2 separate regions of the Homo sapiens genome follow, and region 2 is linked to region 1. Evidence: promoter capture Hi-C in 16 types of primary human blood cells and fetal thymus (Javierre and others, 2016). All regions are on one chromosome and are shown on one strand. Each heading gives the region's core, a stretch centred on a gene start or on the middle of the fragment in contact. The rest is flanking DNA. Distances are from core to core; before and after follow the strand shown.

What was found. The method cuts DNA at HindIII sites, captures the fragments that hold promoters and counts their contacts. A CHiCAGO score of 5 or more calls a contact.
Region 2: a fragment that was not itself captured here is called in contact with the fragment with the promoter of DMRT2 in region 1 in 1 of 17 cell types (monocytes); the score reaches 5.6 in monocytes.

What each region holds. Positions count from the first base shown.
Region 1 is chr9:1,049,107-1,051,606 of GRCh38, reverse strand. It overlaps DMRT2 (doublesex and mab-3 related transcription factor 2), which reads right to left and starts at 1,250. Exons shown (of 4, transcript NM_181872.6): 1 at 832-1,250; 2 at 1-37. RefSeq lists an enhancer at 609-1,478. The HindIII fragment of the contact is 13,820 bases long and covers 1-2,500 here.
Region 2 is chr9:583,941-586,917 of GRCh38, reverse strand. The region is part of intron 1 of KANK1 (KN motif and ankyrin repeat domains 1); the gene reads right to left. Among named protein-coding and RNA genes, the nearest start is that of KANK1, 81 kb to the right of the region's middle. The HindIII fragment of the contact is 787 bases long and covers 1,328-2,114 here.

The sequences.
Region 1 (2,500 bases), core at 1-2,500:
GGGGCTTCGCTGGGGCCTGAGCCTGGCGGCCCTCACTCTGGGGAAACACAAAGAAATCCAAAGACCCACCGGCCGCCGTCAGGGACCATCCCTGAGCCTCCGGCCCAAAGCTCCTGGTCTGCCCGCCTCCGGCCGCTTGAGTCATCCTGTTCTCATTACATGTCCCTCACTTCCAGGCCACACGTGCCTTTCCTGTATCTCCAGGGCCCCCAGGGATCCACAACCCAACAAAGGTTTTATTTTATTAATTCTAAGTGCTCTGTGAGTACCTGACCTTTAACCGTGGCCCTCTCTGGCTTTACACGGGCTTTCCGGACAAGTCCCTGGGTAACTCACTTATCACACACACACAAAATATTGTGTCCAAATAGGCAGCCCCAGGCCACTTGTCGGATTTCCCCATACTCAACTAGTATGGCCATGATGCATATAAAACTATCCGTGGAAGAACAGTTTTCCTTTGATTACAAGTGGCCCTTCAGACTCACTGAAGTACCACTCTATGCTTCCCAAATGCCTCTCATCAGCCTACACCACCACAAGGACCCCTCCTTGGGCTTGAAGAGGTCCTCTCACCCCCCTCCCCAAAATACTCAACTGAAAACCAAAATTTTGTTGTCATTAGCGTCCCATAAGGGCAAAGAGCACAATACAGACGCCCGTCCAGCCTTAATAGTACCTGAGGTGCACAGGGCTGAGCCGCGTGGGCTCTCTGTACTTAGGCCTTGGTTTATATATTTAAGGTAAGGCATCCAAGTCACACAGAAAAGGTGAAAGATGATTCACGCCCTTTGCCCTCCCTGACACCCCGAGCGGCATCACAGCACTCACCAAAACTTTGAGGCCCGGGCTGGTAGCCCAGTTAAAAGATATCCAGCTTTAGGATCTGGCGCTAGGGCTGCTGGCTGTGCATGCAAACAGAAATCGGGGTCGCTACCCTCAAACACGAGATCGGGAGCTGATAGCTGGAGGCCCGGAACGAACCCACTGGATGGTGGAGGGGGAGGGAGAAGGTAGGTGGAGGGAAGGAGGGAGGAAGCCAGTCAAGTCCTCAGCGACCTAGCCCAGCACATCCCGAACTCTGCAAAGTTCTGCTCGGTCTTCTGCAGCCTCGGGCGCCTCACCTTGCTGAGGCCGCTTTCGGCTTCCTCTGACCCAGGCTGGGCGGGAAAGGTCGGGCCGCCCCCGCCTGGCTCAGATCGCTGGCTCACCCGGCGGGCGCGCGCAGTTGCATTCAGCGCAGCGCCACTGGCTTCAGTCTGCAGACTGCGCTCCCCTTCCTAGTACTGTCCGCTCAGGCCCCGGAGCTTTACGTCCTCTGATTGGCCGGTTGTCAGGCGGTGTGAATACTGATTGGCCGAGGCACGCTGGCAGGGAGCCCTCCGCCTCCCGCGGTCTACACTCTTCTCTCTGAAGCGCTCCGCCAGAGTCCGCCTACCGGGCCTTCGGTGCAGCCGGCTCGCCTGTCCAGAATCTAAACCCGAGGTATGACGGTGCCTGCAAGAGAGAAGTCACCATTTATCTCGCGGACTGGGAAACAAGCAGAGATACATTCTTAGGAATGCGTTGTCCACAAGAGAAGGTAATAAACGACGAGGAAGAGATCAGAAAGACCAGTATTGGCCTCTATCAGCATCACAAGCATTTCTGCGACTCAATCAATCATTAATCCAAACTGGGCGTAAAAATGATGCCTCTCTTTCGGGGCGTACAGCGACATCCTTCTTTCTCCTGCAAGAGTACATCAATGGTTACCTGGCACCGAAACTCCTAGTTAGCATACAAATAGCCTGTTGATATTTCTGTGTCTAGTGCCACCTATTCTCGAAGTGCCAAATAGCTCCTCATTAACCTTCACCGAGCCCGTGTGGCAGGTGGCCAAGTCGACTACAAGTCACTTACATTTTTCTGTTATATCAGTTGCTATTACAGTTAATGTAGGGAAGATCAGAAATGCATGCTATTAAGAGAATTAGGTAAATCCATTCACACTAAGCATGCATTTAAACAAAGTTATTTTTAAAAAGATGACTACTTTTTAGTGTGCGTAGTTGTATTTATAGACTTTCTAACGACTCCCTCAAAAAATCCTTTACAAAATGTTTAACGATAAAAAATTTTCAACATATTAAAAGAAGGAATTAGTCTTCTAATTCAACGCTGCATTCTATTTCTTGAACTCAATTAAAAATAATATGGGCGCTTTTCTAACTGCATCTGTAAATAATCAAGACCTCTCGAGTAGGATCTGTTTAGGAGACTACAAAATTGGGTATCATTGCACTGAGTACATAGTAGGCCCGCAACAAATATTTGTTGAAGGGTGGGAATTCCTGACGTAATCCCAACGTTACTTTTGTCCGAGTTTGTCAGAATGTTAAAAGTTAACCTGGATCAGAGAAGTGGGAACAAAGGCAGCTTAGGAACTACCGCGACCAGCCAGAAGCACTATTCTCAAACCTTCAGTGATGTTGTAAAGTTCCTCCCCGGTGACCAGGCA
Region 2 (2,977 bases), core at 472-2,971, 470 kb after region 1:
TGCTACGCATTTTGGAAATCAAAGTACAGTTAAGCCACTTTCCTGCTGGGGGTGCAGGGGCAGGCCAGAATAAAAGGGAGCCTAAGATATCATGCAAAGAGTCCCTTTTGCTTTAGGTAAAGGCTAGCTATTTGCTCTCGTGACTCTCCACCACTGCAAAGAAAAGCGCTGGATCCCTCATAGCTTTCCACCTTCTGTTCTGTTCTCCTCCTCCGTGTGTTTGGTAGTACAAACATAATTCAGCACATGCATACCACTCTATTTTTATGTATTTTTTAATGTCTATCATACTTACTCAGACCACTCCATAACACACACATGGCTTTTCTCCTAAAACTGTTAATGGCAGTTCCCTGGGACTAAAACCTCGGAACTGTTTTCAAGTCATCTCTCTCGTCATTACCTTCCACTAACAGTCACCACCACTTTCCCCGAATGTCCAGCTGCTCTCTACCCCTTCTTTTTCACTCCTATCACACTGCTGAACCCAACTTCCTTGGCATACCTCATCTGTTTATAACAAGAGCCTCTAACTTGGACCCTCTGCAGATCACAGCCTATCCACTCTCTCTTACAGAGAAATTGCTTTCATCCTATTCCTGTAACCTTGAATAGGCCTGGGCCCATCCCCTTGACTGTAAAATGAAGAACTGGTCTCAACATTCTCCATCCTCACTGTGCTTTGAAGTCAGATGTCACTGGGCATGAATCCTGGTCCAGCCACTCTGCCAAACTTAGACAAGTATGTCTGCTCAAAATTCCATCTCACTATGCATAAAATGGGAACTAGTACATCTACTCCAAAGCTTGCTGTAAAATAATAATGACATCTTATGCCTTACAGATCACACAGCAGGTACTCAACAATATTGCTTATTCCCATCCCACCTTACAGAATCCCACAAACTTTGAAGTTCTCTTGTCTTATAACTTCCAAACCTAACGTTTTCTTACATCTACATCCCTAGTGATAATGATTTTCTCTTCCATCACATATAAACTCCCCTGTTGACCTTCAGTTCTTCCATTATCTATCACTACTTTATCTTCCTTTAATTTCCAATAAACGTCTTCTATTCAATCAGATTAGTCTGATCATTTTCCCAAGAACAAACACTTACACCCTGCCTTTGTGCCCATCAGTTCCCCATAGACTTTTCTTACCCCCTCTTTCAAGGCCCAGTTTGAATCCGAAGCCCCAGCAATGCCGACCTCGCAAACAATTTAACCCTCACACAATGCCTTAACATTATTGTCTACTCTTCCATGTTCACCAAGATTAGCTGTCCAGCTGACAAAGACTATTTGGATTATTCTAAGTTAAGCTTTTTACTTCAGTGTGGATTGTATTAGAGTTTTTACAAACTACATATTTTTTGGATCGGTTCTGTCAATGCTTTTTGAAATTCATAGGCCTTTGTGCCTTAAGGTAAGCGTCTTTTATTAATTCCATCATTTTTATTTGAGGCTGATACAAGGAGCTTGTTCCATCATCAATGGGTAGACCATTGGTAGACAATCTGACAGCTGTCTCAGGAAGCCAGATATGAATTCTAAGTATGTCCAATGTCTGTCAGATTTTGTGACAAAGTGAACGTGTTCTAATTGCAAGTACCATTTTAAGACCAAACTCTCAATGGCAGCAAGGATGATGCACAGCGGGCAAAGATGACTTGTTGCTAGAGTTTTACCTGAAGATGATGGTTGAAGCTCCAGGGGTAAATGAAAGTTCTAAGGGGAATCAGTAGAAGACACAGTGAAGGGTCAAGGGACATGGAAGAAGACACTGAGTGGTTACAGAGGCAGGAGAATAACCACAAGGGTGGAGAGGCACACAAGCCCAAAGAGAGTTGAGTAACACATCAAATGCTGCAGATAAGGACAAAATGTCACTGGGTTTAACAATAAGGAAGGGGGTCACTCATGACCCCTAAGGGCAGTTTTCAAAATGGCAGATACAGGATGCTGACTGCAAGGCATTGAGGAGAAACTGGGAGGAAGGCAAACGGAAACAAGCAGAGACTTCCTGCCAAGAACTTTGGCTCTCAAGCCAAAAGGTTTGTGCTGGTCATTTTCTAACCCTGAACTTAACAGCTCAACCAAATACCCAAGCTTGCTCTTCTTCCCTTGGTCCTCACCTGTCCATGTGCAGCGAGCCTGAAAGCTGAAGATAACTGACAGTTGACTGCAAACCCTTCCCGCCTTTTCTCTTCCAGCACCATCCTCACATGCCTGGTTTTGGTTCCCTAACAAATCTTACAGAACTATTCAACAGCTCTATGTTATCAAGTCTCAAATGCTAAGTTATATTCTTCTTCTGCTGTAGGTAAATGATAGTTACTTATTTAACATAAAAGGAAAGACACCAAAATGTGTCAAATCAACAGAACAGAAGTCTAGGTTCAGATCAAATACCATATTACTATCTTTGGATAACCTATGTAATTTATGCTGAATTATTAAAAAATAATTTTTCTTCCTTCAAAGTAGTACTTTGTTCTTTACTGTAAGTTCATAAAAATCAAAGAAAAAATAAAAATCATGAGGATAATTAGCACTTTGTTGAACCGCCTTCCACTTTTATATGTATGCATGACACATAAACATAATACACAAATGTGTAAGTGCATGTAAGTTTCACTAAAAGTAAATCATATGATATTACTTGTAACTTGTTTTTCCCACTTATTCTGATAGAAATTCTGTACCATTTAATAGTCTTGTATGCTTTCATTTTTAATGACTGATCAATAATCCATTTTAATAAATTCCCTTGAAGCACTTAAGTCACCTCTTATTTTTGATTATATATGTAATGCTGAGAAAGATATCCTTCACTATACCATCAAGTATTTGCCTGGGATAAGGTCAAGGTCAAATGTACAGAAAATGTGAGGATCTGATATTGTTAATTTGCCCTACACAATGTTTGACCCAGTGGCACATGACAATACCCACTCCTCCACACCCCCTCTAA